Linked DNA regions of Homo sapiens: all the other regions are linked to region 5. The links are contacts of gene promoters, found by promoter capture Hi-C in blood cells and fetal thymus (Javierre and others, 2016). All regions are on one chromosome and are shown on one strand. Each heading gives the region's core, a stretch centred on a gene start or on the middle of the fragment in contact. The rest is flanking DNA. Distances are from core to core; before and after follow the strand shown.

Region 1 (2,700 bases), core at 34-2,533, 1.0 Mb before region 5:
AACACTGTCATTTTTGAAAGAACCATGAAGTTGGAGATTATTTTAAGATGTAATCAAAGCAGGATTTTTGTGGACACAGACACTCTTTTCTTGCCCAGGTATGTTTTCCACATAATATCAGTTCTTTCATGAAATAGAGGAGACCGCAGGTGCCTTTTTCATTCTACTAATCTTAAAGTGTTGAATTTGAATAAGGAAGTTAATGGTAGCCATCCGTAAGAAATGTTAAAGAGGAGACGACTTTTCTAAAATAAAAAATTGGAAAGTAACCTGTTACGTGACTCAAATCTGTACTCCTTCATTCATTCCTAAAGATTGATGACTGAGCACCTGCCATGTTCCAGGCACTGTGCTAGGTTCTGGGCCACTGTGATGAAAGAACAAGATGCGTCCCTGACTCTCTGGCACTCAGAATGAGTAGCTGGCGCTTCTCTGATGGTCTGGCCCGACGTGAGCATCTACTGAAGGTGAAGTTGTAAACCGCATGTCTATATGCAAAGGAAACTTTCTGGAAATACATATATAATGGTACTTCTGGGAAGGAATATCGAATGGGAGAGCTAAGAGAAGGGAGAGTCTCACCCTCAGTATACTTTTGTATTATTTTATTTTTTTTTACAGCAAATGTGTATTTGTGTATTACTTTTGTGACTTTAATCGGCCATAGCAGAAAACTGTATTTTTACAAATTAATTTTTTATTTTAAGAAATATTAAACTTTGGAAGGCTGAGGCAGGTGGATCACCTGAAGTCGGGAGTTCTAGACCAGCCTGACCAACGTGGAAAAACCCTGTCTCTACTAAAAAAATTACAAACTTAGTCGAGTGTGGTGGTGCATGCCCGTAATCCCAGGTAGGGAGGCTGAAGCAAGAGAATCACTTGAACCTGGGAGGCAGAGGCTGCAGTGGGCCGAGATCGCACCACTGCACTCTGGCCTGGGCAACAAGAGTGAAACTCCATTTCAAAAAAAAAAAAAAAAAATTCAGAAGCCTCTAATCTGAAATGATGAAAGGAGGAAGGTATTGATTGTAAATGTTATTCAGCAGTTCTTTTGTCTTGAAAATGCTCCCCATACTGTAATTAGTATGGTCAGGGGCAGTCTGTGAATGGTGGGAGAAGTGTCAGAAGTTTGGCTTATGGTCATCTTTTTCTTCTCTGGAGGCTGGCTTGAGGAGCTGAGCCAGGCCGGTGGTCAGGTGGTGGAAGGCTTTGGAGGAAAGGTGAGCTGGAAGAATTTCTTCGTAACCAGAGTTTGGGTGAAGATGAAGCAGGAGGCACAGGACGTTCACTGCTCCTTGATTAACAAGCAGGAACACAATAGACATTTGGTATAAATCCTGCAAAGGGCCTCCAACAAATAAGGAAAAAGAGGGGGGCTTGGGGGAAGGAGGACTGTGGCCATGGCAGAGCCTCCCGGAAACTCCCTGCTGCTGCCAGGCTCGTGGGCACACTTCTCAGCATGGGAGAGGCTGGAGGAGAAGCAAGTCATGCCCTCCACCCCCGGAAGGAGCAGCAGGCAGAAAAGGGCTCTGAAGGCTTCTCTGGGCCTAAGTCCCAGTTCTGCCACTCCAAGCACTGTGGATCTCTCCAAGCCTCAGTGTCTGCATCTGTAAGAAACGATAACTATGGCACCTGCCTCATGGGGGGGTTGCTGTGGAGCCATCCCTAACACAGTGGCCAGCATGTGAATCTCAAGGAATGTGGGTTTTCACACTGAGGACGCCAAGGAAGTTACCTCTCAAAACTATAAAACGTCAACAGGAGAATAATACTAAATGAAGAGGAAATTTGGAGGCATTCATGGGGTCTACAAGGAGATGAGAAAATGGAGGAGGAATAACAACTCGGTCCAACATAGGTCCAAGACAGCATAGCCCAGAGGTCAAGAGCCCAATCCGATGGCTGGATTCCAATCCCACCTCTTCCACTTCGTAGTCCACCTCTCCTGGTCTTCGCTGACCATGCAGTTGTGTAACAATAGGACCTGCCACATTAGGTTGGGGGAGAATTAAAAGAGTTAATATGTGTGATGCATTTGGAACATGGCACATGGTGGGCTCATACAGAGCACATAAGAATTTATTGGTAATAAATGTCTGATGATTGCTCATGCAGGGCCATATGTCTGTGATAGAACTTTCTCTATCACTAATGCTAGCCACGAAGTCAGGCAGAATCTGAGATGGACTTACTGATTTCCCATTTCAACCCCTCCAAATGTATCCATTCGAAAGGGATCCAGCAGCTGTCAACCACCTGATGGTGACTTAAAAGGCTGAGCTGAGTGATAAGACTGGTTTCCCCTGTCTGGGGCCTGGGTCTGAGTGTTTATCACCTAAACAAGCACTTACAAATCCAAACCTTCTGCCAGCGACCTCACTGGCCACACTCCTTATAAACATAATTGATAGAAGTGTAAATACTTTGTAGCAGTTGACTCCTGCCTTTGTAAACCCTCTTCTGGAGTCTACCTCAGGGCAGACATAGCGGGCATGGGCACGGCCAAGTGGTTGGAAGCACTCCAGGCTACATCAGCCAAGAGTTGTCCCTAGCAGGCCGGGCCCTATGCAGATGGCTCTGTTTATGCCACCCCTCCATTACAATGGGATCCCAATAACAAAGAATTCCATCAAACTACCCCCAAGACCACTATTATTTATTTTACCCTGGTTACCAGAAACAGAATCTCAACAACACAGA
Region 2 (2,700 bases), core at 141-2,640, 1.5 Mb before region 5:
CAGAGGCTTCAGCAATGAGCCAGTCAGTAGGAAACGGGCAAATTCTAATAGCAGGAACTTTGGTAGAGCAATGCAATGATGTACCAAGCCAGATAGCAGTAGGTCTGGCAGAGTACCTTTCTTCAATAGGCCTACTCTTTTGGAAGTTTTAATTTTCTATCACCATTAAAATGTTAGAAACATGATAAAATTTTAAGCTTTTTCTAGAAAAATAACACTGTAAAGGAAATTGTTTTTTCCCCCATAGGATGAAATCAACTCAACGGCTCCCCAAATGAAGTTGCAGAAAGGAATATAAAGCTATGTTGACAGTGACACTCAGGGAAGGTAGAAGGTTCCCTCCAATAAATTTTAGCAAGTTGTGTATTGCGGAATTAAAATTAAAGAATGTTTGATTAGAAAGTAAGCTTTTAAAATTGTAACCAATAAAAATAAAAATTAATGGGATAAAGATTATCATATAGAAAAGTATATTTGATTGTAAAACTATACCTGTAATTAATTTCTTGACCAACTGAAGGAATGGGTACAAAGAAATATTCAATCACTTTCATAACATAAACTAAAACTAATCTCAACTTTGTGGTTGAGATCAGAATTAGGAACTGAGTTGAATATATAAATTTTAAAATGAAATAACATTTCAGATAATATACCAATGAGTGAAAAGACTATAGGGGATTTTTTGGGTAAGGAAGCTGAACTGTAGTTTCAGCTCCTCCTAAGCTATTTCTACTTCCATTTCTCACTTTTTCCCTCTATCCATTTTTTGTTGTAACAGCTTTGAGATGCAATTCACATATTATACAATCTACCCATTCAAACAGGACAACTGAGTTTTAATATGGTCACATAGTCCAACCATCACAACTATCTAATTCCAGAATGTATGCATCACTCCCAAAAGGAACTTTGTATACATTAGCAATCACTCACCCAACTCTTAGTAACCACTAATCTGTCTCTACGGACTGACATCTTTAGCTTCCACATTTGTAAGGTTCATCCGTGTTGTAACATCTACCAGTACTTCATTTTATTGTCCTTGCCAAATAATATTCCGCTGTATGGATATAACACATTTAATCTATCCATTCATCAGTTGATGCAGCTGCGAGGTTTTCTTTTTCCACTTTCTATTAAGAATAATGCTGCTATGAATATTCACGTACAAGTTTTTGTCTGAATATGTTTTCATTCCTCTAAGGTGGAGGACTCACATGGTAACTCCATGTTTCACCATTTGAGAAAATGGCCAGGCTGTTCTTCAAAGCAGCTGCACCATTTTACAATCCCACCAGAAGTGTATGAGGGTTTTATTTCCCCATATCCTCACTAACACCTGTTTTATCTTTTCGATTGCAGCTTACTCGGTATGAAGTTGTATATCTTCCACTTTTTAAACCCAAATATTCCTTAAAATCTTCTAACTACCTCTCCCTCCATTACAGACACTAATGCATGTGGTCAGGGTAAAGCCGACATCTCCATGTACTTCTTTACATGGCTTGCTTTTTGAAATCTGGGGTAAAATTCTGACTCCCTGTATATGTTCTATAAATGAACACTTACATCTTTCTTACAATCTAACAAAGAAATCAACCTTATAACAAATCAGCTAATTACATTTTGAATGCAAACAATACATAGCATTGAAATTACAACCAAACTGCCATTATATCATCAAAAATGTTAATAAACTGGAAAAGCAGTAGTTTGGAGTGTTCCTGATTTACTTAAAAACATTTTCAATTAAGTTAAAATATTTTTATCAGTAGCTTAACGATTATACTGTATACTTCACTACTGAATTCACTTAAGAGTAACAAGTTACTTAACAGTGTAAAATCAGTCCAATCCTAAGTTCAAAAACTTTGTCCTTTAAACTACCAACAAATAGAATTGGCGTAAGATTAGGTCCTGAAACTGGAATAATCCTTAAAGGATTCAATGTCCTCCAAAATGTTGTAAGTCAGTGTTGTAATGAAGCCAATGATTGTAAGAAAATAATTTTGACAACTGACAGAACCATTGTTTCACACAACCTGTGTAATAGGCATCAACAGAAAATTTCACTAACCTGGCATTTTCTTCTTCTGGCCTTTCAACTTCATTTTCATCTACCAAGTAAAATAAACAAATAAATAAATAAGCAAACAAAATAAAGAAACCACTCTTAAAGAAACTAGTATTATGAAAATCTGAAGTGATCATCACAAGCACTAACCTAGGTCCTTTGCCAAATCACTGTGCACATGCACGTCCCATGGGCCTATAAGCACATCCAAAGTTAGATCACCTTATAATTACTTAACAAGATACTTATTTTATGGAAAAAAAAATCAGACTTTACTGCTATAAAAATAAGCTTAAATTTAAGAGGTAATGAAGATTTCCAGATCTTTGTAAAAGAAATCCTACACATTCACATTTCAAAGAGTAGTAACTAATGCTAAATCTTGCCACCAAACGATTTTTTTTTACAAGTTTATCAAAGTCACATCATCAAGGACCTGCATGGTGCCCAAAGTGCACTTTTACTATTCTATTCTAAAGACAATCAAGAATATATGTTTTAGGCAAGGAACAAACATTAACTTTCAAATCTGGTGTTAACAAGCAAGAAGGGATTGTGACTTAAAGTTAAAAACCAGATGTCAAACAAGTACCCTTCTAGAGAGAAGTACATGATGCATTAAA
Region 3 (2,700 bases), core at 102-2,601, 1.0 Mb before region 5:
GATATTTCCTTTTCCAGCATGCCTCACCACAGAAGTGGCCAATGAGATGTAAGAGGAATTCTTATGAAGGAGCTTTTGAAAATCATCTTCTAGCTAGATAAAAAGAAATAGCTCCACAGTGGTATATGTGACAAATGCAGTGTCCCTGGTGTGTTTGGTGTTTGCCTCTCCCAGCACCTCATACCTGGTAAGCACGCACTATTGTTCAAAATAGCTCATAGGGCTTCCTTTGGTCATCTCCCAGCTCATCCCCAATGAGGAGCTTCTGCAACTCACTGATTTCTACACAACAGCAGCAGATACATGCATCGCCATGACCCTTCCCAGCGGGCATTTATGACATGAAGGAGCTGACCAAGACACAGGTGCCAAAGCTTAACTTTTTAATTTTTGAAAGACAGTATTGCTTTGTCACCCAGGCTGGAGTGCAGTGGTGCAATCACGGCTCACTCAACCTCCCAGGCTCAAGCAATCCTCCCACTTCAGCCTCCCAAGTAGCTGAGACTACAGGCACATGCCACCACACCCAGTAATTTTTTTTTAATTTTAGTAGACACAAGGTCTCACTATGTTGCCCAGGCTGGTCTCAAAATCCTGGGCTCAAGCAATCCTCCTGCCTTGGCCTCCCAAAATGCTGGTATTACAGGCCTGAGCCACTGCACCTGACCAAAACTTACTTATTTATTTTATGAACCAAGCCGATGCTTCATAAAACCATCCTTTCATTCTACAAGACAACCATGCACTATTCATTACAATTCCCAGGAATCTCAGACCTAAGAGTGATGCTTAACTGGATCCATATTCCTCATCTTGAATATTCTGGTATGACTCGTTCACACCTTCATTGCTAGGCCTTTAGCTAAGCCTTTGTTCTTTTATCATTGCTTAGTGTATAGTTTCATTGCCTCTGTTTTTTTAGAAACCAATCTCAATTCCCATCATAAATGAGTAGTTGAGGGAGTGAAAAGAAACTATCTACACATCCTGAAGAAAGGAATATAAACATAAACCACACACTCATGTTTTGGTTGTGAATTGAGTCTGATCAATTTAATAAAGTGTTGATTAAGGTTAAGACTTAGAGTTAGGAAGTCAAAAGGCTTGGAATAGCTATCTCCTTCTTAGCTTAGCTGAAAAACATTCCCTCACTTAGGACAACAGTGCCTGTGAGGGCCCCACACTTTGATGAGGCAGGGAACCTTCAGGAGAAAGAATGTACTAAATACAGGAAACCACCTTGCTGCCATGAATGAGTCTTAGGGAATAAGACTATTTGTGGCAGACAGGATTACCTGTCTAATCCAACAGCCAATCCCAACTCCTGGGCCTTTACAGATTCTGTTACAGAAGCAAAGAAAGGTAAATTCTCATTTCCCAATCTCTATCATAGTGAGGACAATTATAACACAGTCCTGGCCAATGAAATAGAGGAAGTGGAAGTTTGTTGACAGTTTCAGGAAAACATTTAGCTCTGATGCAGCTGGCACTGCCCCTGGCACTGCCCCTTTCAGGAGGAAGTCAGAATGTGGATGCTGAAGCCGGAAGGAGGGTGGATGCGAATGGGGAGAGAGTGCGGAAGTTCTCCCCTGACTGTTTCATCCTCTCAGTGAAGCAGAAAGCAAGGGCAGCAGCTGAGATGGTGATGGGGAAGGAGGTGTTGTGGAGTTGAGGAAGGAGGAAAAAGTGTGAAACAGTCACAGGGTGGGGTAGAAGGACGTAAATAAACGAGGGATACATGGTAGGATTATTGGGCAAACTCAAGACCGACTTGAGATTGGTGGTCAGGAACATAAAATGAGACTAGCCAGCATGGCTGAGTATTTTTCTCAGGTCTTGTCATTTGGCCTGCATGCAGGCACAGAATAGGATTTGACTAGATTGTGTTCTGCCAGGATAATAAACGAAGAGAGAGAGGTAAAGAGGCTGAGGGTCTTTGCAAAGAAGTGACTCTAGACATGGATAGTGGACACTCAGCTGGAGAAATGAGGAAAGGAGGGAGATGAGGGCAGTAAACTTAATGGGACCTTCTACCCACTAGGGCCAAAGAATGGTTTCTGTTGAGCAACTAGAGGAAGCCAGCTAGGGGAGTAGAAGATGTGGGGCATGAGGGATGTTTGAAACTGAGATTAAGGAGGAGATGCAGCTTTAGTCACATCTGGATTATGATAAAGATGCAGTGTCTGGAGTAGAAAATGAAGGTCAAAGAGATTATGCTCTCCCACTTCCTTGAATTTAGATAACAGACCTAAGGCCTGAAAACGCAAAAGTGTTATCCTCCCATCTCCCACAAAACTGACCGGTTTGAGCCATTCATTGGAAGCTTTTCTCCATGTAGCAGACAATAGGATCCCCCAGAGTTTCCAAACCTCTCTCCTTCCCTCCTATCCCTATTAGCAAACTCCAAGCTGGAGCCATGTTCAAGAGGAACTCAGCAGCAGACAGAGAAGCAAGACAGGGCCTTGGGGGAGGAGGGTTGGAAGGAGGGGGTGTGGTGGGAATGGCAGCTTAGTCTCAAAACAAGAGGAAGACTTAGTAGTTAGTGGTCGCAAGAGCAGGGAAGCCTGGCTCTCCTGCTCTGGGGCTGAGAACCCCTCTCCTTTGTTTAGCCTGGAGAAAGCCCCCAGTTTGAGGCGGAAGTGAAAGCTGTAAAGGTTAGAGCACAAAGGGCTGAGAGGCAAGCAGGACATTGTGTTTACA
Region 4 (2,700 bases), core at 42-2,541, 1.2 Mb before region 5:
AGGACAAACATCTGCCTTCCTACAAGAGCTGCTGGCCTTCCTGATGTTAGATAAATGCATTTTGTTCTTTGAAAGCCCCTCATAGAGAAGAGACTGTACAATAAGAGAAGCCCACTCATTCTTGAATCCAGAGCGCCTCGTTGTGGCTCAAACATGTTACTACAGAAGACCGTTTATCAATTTGCTATTTCTCTTCTCCCCAAACTTAATCAGTTTTAAAGGTAGAATATATTTTAATAAATATATTATTTGACCATGCCATATGGTCAAAGCTTCCAGGAACACATAGATATGTGTTACCAACTTGGAAGATAAACTGGGGTTGGGTACACTCAAGTTATTTTTCTAATAGTGATGGAAGACGTGTGCTGATAAGTTTTCAAAGTCTTATCTGAACCGCCTGATGACTGACAACGTGCGTTTGAGAGATTTTGCTTCTCCTGGGAAGCTTGCCCTGATTCTCCTGCTGCTTCTTCCAAAGGTTCGTTTTGTTTTTTGGGTTTTGTTTTTGTTTTTTTGCATATTTTCCTGTACTCCTTACTAAAAATTCTTCAGGGCAGAGCTGCTGTCTTACCTTTGTATTCTCAATGCACAGCACAGTGCCTGGCAAATAGCAGGTCCCCAGTAACACTAGATGAATGACAGGTGTTTTAGGACCAACTGTGGTGGATCAGAAGAATAAAATCCATAATCCTGGCCTGTGTCCTGACCATCCAAGTATATGGTTAGTCTTTATTACTGTGTTTTTTTGTATTTACTCTGTTAAAATTACCTTAAATATAGTGAGCTTTGCTTAATGAGAAACTGATGTAGCAAATAGCAGACCCTGTAATACAGCTGGTCATTTTAACACAGTGCCTTTTCTCCTCCTGACTCACTGACTTTTGGTTTGTTTTGCTAAATCATTACCTTGTAATGTCTAGTTTTTATTCAAAACAACTGCTACTAAGTACTACACCAGTAAAACGTTCTAGTGGATATTATAAATTCAAAAATATTTCTATGTACCCTTATAACAGGGAATGCTGAGTTAATGCGTTTTTCACAAAATAGAGATTCTCTAACCATTTTTTGGTTGTCCCCTTACCGTCTGTACCAAAGCAAGCTATGTAGGACACTGTTTTTTTCAAAAGGTGCATTTAAGTATGTTTTAAGAATTGAGGTATATCCCACCAAGCTCGTGTATTTATTCAAGAAGCATTTATCTCCTGTTATATGCTTGGCATTGTGCTGGAGTTCTGGAGGTGGCTAAGACAGTCCTTCCTGGAGCTCACGGGGGAGCCCAAGGAGCCCTAATATCATGTGATCTGTGCTATAACAAGGACTATAAACACAGAGGGCTGAGGCAGCACTTGGAGAGGGTTGTGCCTATGAGGTTCTTGATAAATGCTGAATAAGCTGAATTCAGGGCCTTCTCAAGGTGAGTGAATCACCTTTGTGTATTGCAAAGGAAAACTAAGAATAGTGTCTTGGATGACAGGGAAGAATAACTGTACAAATAAATGTTACATACCACACTTAAAAATGTCAACTTGGACAAGGCAAGTAAGGAACACATGGATTTTAGGTGTGGCCAGTGAAAATCAGAGACTCTGACTATAATCCCTTTCTAACCTCCCCTTCAGTGCGTAACTAACACTGTTTTCACAAAAACTCTGAAACTTTCTTTTCCAGGCTTTTATACAAGTTGTTTCTTTTGCCTGGAACAATCACTGCCACTCCATCTCCATACCAACTCCTTTCACCCTGGAGGAAGCCTCCTCTGTCTCATAGCACTCTGCACTTCCACATCATAGCGCCTACCATACCATAATGTAAACAGGTCCACCCATTTACCTCCCTGCATCCCCTGCACATGGCAAAGGGTGTATGTCTGTTTTTCTCCGGGACCCAACACATGCTCAGCACCTCAGGCTTAATAAAGATGAGTTAACTCAAATTAGTTAATTTAATTCCAAGTTGCTCTCTCATATAGCATCTCTGTATGGGACTTCAAAATACCAGATATTTTTTAGTTGACCCTTTTTATTTTATACTGAAGCCTTTTCATAAGATGGGAGGACTATAAAATCCCTCCCCTGCACGGAATCCAAGCAATAATACCTTTCCTTCAGTGGTAAACATGTGAAGCTTCTTGGAATTTAAAAAACTATTTTTTAATAAGGAGATATACAGTCTGGGATCTGCCCTTGAGCCTGATTTCTCATCTATAAATGAGGAGATGGGCCTAATGATCTCAGAGGACGTTCCAGCAAAAGTTATTCTCAGAAGCCATATAATAAATGTTATAAAACTACCTTATTACTGCCAACATTTCACATAATATTAAGATTTTGAAGAGTACTCATGAGTAGTTTTGACAGAAATTGTAGAGACTATCTCCCCACCAACCTCTAGAACATAACAGCTAAATGATTTTCGTTGACTAATTGAATGAATGAGGAAAAAAAGCCACATGGCAAAATCCCAAGTAATAAAAAAGGAAATATTCTCACAGTTGAAGGAATTTTCAAGAAGGAAAGGGAGAATTGTCTGCAAGGGTACAAGGTGACATTTATAGTGAAAGGAATTATTTAAGTTCTTCCATTATTTATTTACACAGGAAAGGGCCCATGAATTTACAGTGAAAAACTCTTCTAATAAGGGAATTAAGGCTATGAAACTAACATAGCTGTATTTACCAGTACTTGATAAATGTCA
Region 5 (2,700 bases), core at 44-2,543:
TGCCCCGCCTCCTAGTCCCGCTGCCGGAGCCCGCGCCAGCGCTGACCTCGCTTCCCGCCGTCCGGGGGGAACCACGGCCAGTTCCAACCTTAGGGCACTTACCCCGTCTCCTCCACCTCAGCCCCGCCCCCTCCTCTCTCCGCACCCCGAAGCTTGGACTCCCCCCTTCAAGGGACCCTGCCTCGACAGGGAGAGGAAGTACCTCCCCTAAGCACAGTCTGACACCCCCTTAGCCCGGCTCCGGACCGAATCTGGACGTGACAGTCCTCCTGCCCAACTCCGCCCCACCTCCCCTTCCTCCCCGACTAGCTCCTCACCCCCATTTCATATTCTCCACCCCTGCCCCCACTCTGCCACCCCAAATCCTACCCACCTTTTTCTCCTCTTCCTCCCAATCGCCCTACCCTTCCACACCTGCCCCATCTCTTTACCCCAACATCTTCCACTCCCACCACTCTCCGTTACCCACCGCCCTTCCAACGCCCCTCCCGCCCCGCAGGACTCCCCAACTACCATTACACCCCAGTCCCTCCCACCACCTCGCTTTCCCGTTACATCAGCCCTCGTCCAGTCGCCCGCCCTCCTGCCCCGCTCGGCCGCTGCCCCCATTCCCCCACCCCATTGTTCGCCGCCCCCCCCCCACCCCCCCGCCAACCAGCCCTTCTTCCCATTGTCCCCGCCCCCGCGCCCCCCTCGCACTCACCCGCCTTTCTCACGGAGCCGCCCGCACCACTCAGCCCTTTGGAAATCCTCACCCTTGTGCCCCGCTCGCTCGCTCGCTCCCTCCCTCTCCCCGCCGGTGCCACCCCCCCACATCCCCGGCCCTGCCCGCTACAGCCCAACGCTGCCTCCACCTCCATGCACCCCGGACACTCCGATCTCGGCCCTTCATCGCACGTCCAGCCCTCCCTTCCCCCAACACTGAAAGAGAGCCAGTCCCCACCCCCCTCACCTCCGCCCTCCCCGCAGGCCGGTCCCTTCCCCCCACGCCCGCCCCCGCCCCACGCCGCCCGCAGCGTCACCGCCCGCCCCGGCCCCGGGAGGGGAAGGGGTGGTTCCCAGGCAGGGGCTCCCGGCGCGTTTCGGGACCCGAGGCGTGGGGCGGGGACTGCGGGAGCCGAGTGGCGAGTTTGGCAGCCGCCCGGCCCCGGCCCGCTGGCTGGCTCTCTGCTACTCACTGACAGCGGCGGCATCCGAGTGCATTTTCAGGCAGCTCACACCCGGCTCGCCGCCCAGGCTCCCGCGCTCGCCTCGCGGTCCCCCCACCAGCTCACTGCACCTCGGCTCGAAGCTGAGGACCCGCCGCCGGGCACTCCCAGCCCGCCCATCTCGCCTTCTCCATTGGCTAAACCGCGGCTCAGGGGCCGCCCTGCTGCGTCTCTCATTTGACAAAAGGAGTGCCCATAGCGCCGGTCTGGAGCTGGCAACGAGGCCCCGCCCCCCACTGGCCAATACGATTGGTCCTGGGGCCTTGTCTCCGTAACGCCCCTGGCGGAGGCCATGCTCCGGAGCAGCGGGTTGGGCCCGGCTGCTGTCAGTCACCCCCAGGGGTCCGAGAGCGCGTGTAGGGGCGAAGCTGGGAAATTGGTCCACCTTGACCCTGAAACCCCGCCCAGTGGCGGGCGGGATTGGTGGAGCTGGAGACCCACCAAGAAAGATGGGTCGGCGTCTGAAACAAAGCACGCGAAGTGTTTCCCAAAGAATAGAGCAGCGCAGCGCAGTTGGGGGCGGCTCGTACCAGCTGCTGGAAGTAGGGAAATGCGTCCGTCCCTAGCGCCCGGCGCGACGCGGCCGGGTCTCCCGCCACTTGTCCCACGACACTTGTCCAGTTCGCGCCGAACTCGGACTGGGACTTCTCTTGTCAGCTGCTTCCTACCGCAGGAAACTGGATTAAGAATTGCCGCGTCTTAATTTCCAGCAAACCTTCTGGTGGGGAGCAAATTTCCATTTCTCCTACGAAGATCCATCCTCTCCCCACTTTCGAAATGTACTTCTTTTCCAGAGTCCGCATACTTGTTTCGCAGAGTTCGCACACTTCTTTCCTCTAGTCACTAATGTCTGTTAAAGAGGCTTCGAATGCCACGAGCATTGTCCGTCACACACATCTGTATGCCCCAGACATCAGACAGAAATACAGGGCCGCGCTCTGAGCTGCGGACTGAGCCTAACACATGGACGAGTCCAGGGGGCAGACCACCAGCCCGTGAAAGACCCCCGGCGGCATCTAAGAAAACCTGTCACTCCCGCGGAGAGGCCGTCCAGAAATTGAAACTGGCTGTTATTTGGCAGAGGGAGACGTTAATTTTGGTGAATTCTTCTGACCCTAAGTCAAGAATTCGCACCATTTCCATGAGTCCTGCCCTGATTTTTCAATACTTGAAGCTAACTTATCACACCGCATTATGGTAACAGAACAATATTTCGAGATATTAACGGAGGATTCCCCCCACCCCAACCCACCCCCACCCTACCCTGCCTCCACCCTCATCCCAGCCACCAACTCCAACAACAACACACCTACAAGGCATCCCCATATCCTAAGGCCCTGGGCCATCTGGGAGCCTCAAAGAGTAGGTGACACCACAAATCACAGGTAACAGAACGCACGGTCTTTTTGGTTTTAGATTTCTACAGCCCAGGCTTTTGGGTTTCCAGGCTCTGAAATTTAGATTTTAAATCAGGACACAAATGTTATGCTAT

What was found. Contacts are between HindIII fragments. The CHiCAGO score rates a contact against its expected background, and 5 or more counts as called.
Region 1: a contact is called between a fragment that was not itself captured here and the fragment with the promoter of DCUN1D4 in region 5, in 1 of 17 cell types (fetal thymus). The highest score is 5.1, in fetal thymus.
Region 2: a fragment that was not itself captured here is called in contact with the fragment with the promoter of DCUN1D4 in region 5 in 3 of 17 cell types (naive CD4 T cells, total CD8 T cells and total B cells); the score reaches 6.3 in naive CD4 T cells.
Region 3: a contact is called between a fragment that was not itself captured here and the fragment with the promoter of DCUN1D4 in region 5, in 1 of 17 cell types (monocytes). The highest score is 5.4, in monocytes.
Region 4: a fragment that was not itself captured here is called in contact with the fragment with the promoter of DCUN1D4 in region 5 in 1 of 17 cell types (fetal thymus); the score reaches 6.1 in fetal thymus.

Annotation. Positions count from the first base shown.
Region 1 is chr4:52,870,199-52,872,898 of GRCh38, reverse strand. No RefSeq gene overlaps it. Among named protein-coding and RNA genes, the nearest start is that of RASL11B, 9.2 kb to the right of the region's middle. The HindIII fragment of the contact is 3,091 bases long and covers 1-2,700 here.
Region 2 is chr4:53,378,645-53,381,344 of GRCh38, reverse strand. FIP1L1 (factor interacting with PAPOLA and CPSF1) reads right to left here. Exons shown (of 18, transcript NM_030917.4): 2 at 2,228-2,272; 3 at 2,081-2,120. Among named protein-coding and RNA genes, the nearest start is that of FIP1L1, 2.4 kb to the right of the region's middle. The HindIII fragment of the contact is 1,961 bases long and covers 410-2,370 here.
Region 3 is chr4:52,842,963-52,845,662 of GRCh38, reverse strand. No RefSeq gene overlaps it. Among named protein-coding and RNA genes, the nearest start is that of RASL11B, 18 kb to the left of the region's middle. The HindIII fragment of the contact is 1,949 bases long and covers 377-2,325 here.
Region 4 is chr4:53,013,246-53,015,945 of GRCh38, reverse strand. The region is part of intron 5 of SCFD2 (sec1 family domain containing 2); the gene reads left to right. Among named protein-coding and RNA genes, the nearest start is that of SCFD2-AS1, 87 kb to the right of the region's middle. The HindIII fragment of the contact is 1,682 bases long and covers 451-2,132 here.
Region 5 is chr4:51,841,746-51,844,445 of GRCh38, reverse strand. It overlaps DCUN1D4 (defective in cullin neddylation 1 domain containing 4), which reads right to left and starts at 1,293. Exons shown (of 11, transcript NM_001040402.3): 1 at 1,179-1,293. The coding sequence starts at 1,203. RefSeq lists silencers at 66-185, 736-815, 916-1,265, 1,356-1,405, 1,416-1,565. The HindIII fragment of the contact is 3,870 bases long and covers 155-2,700 here.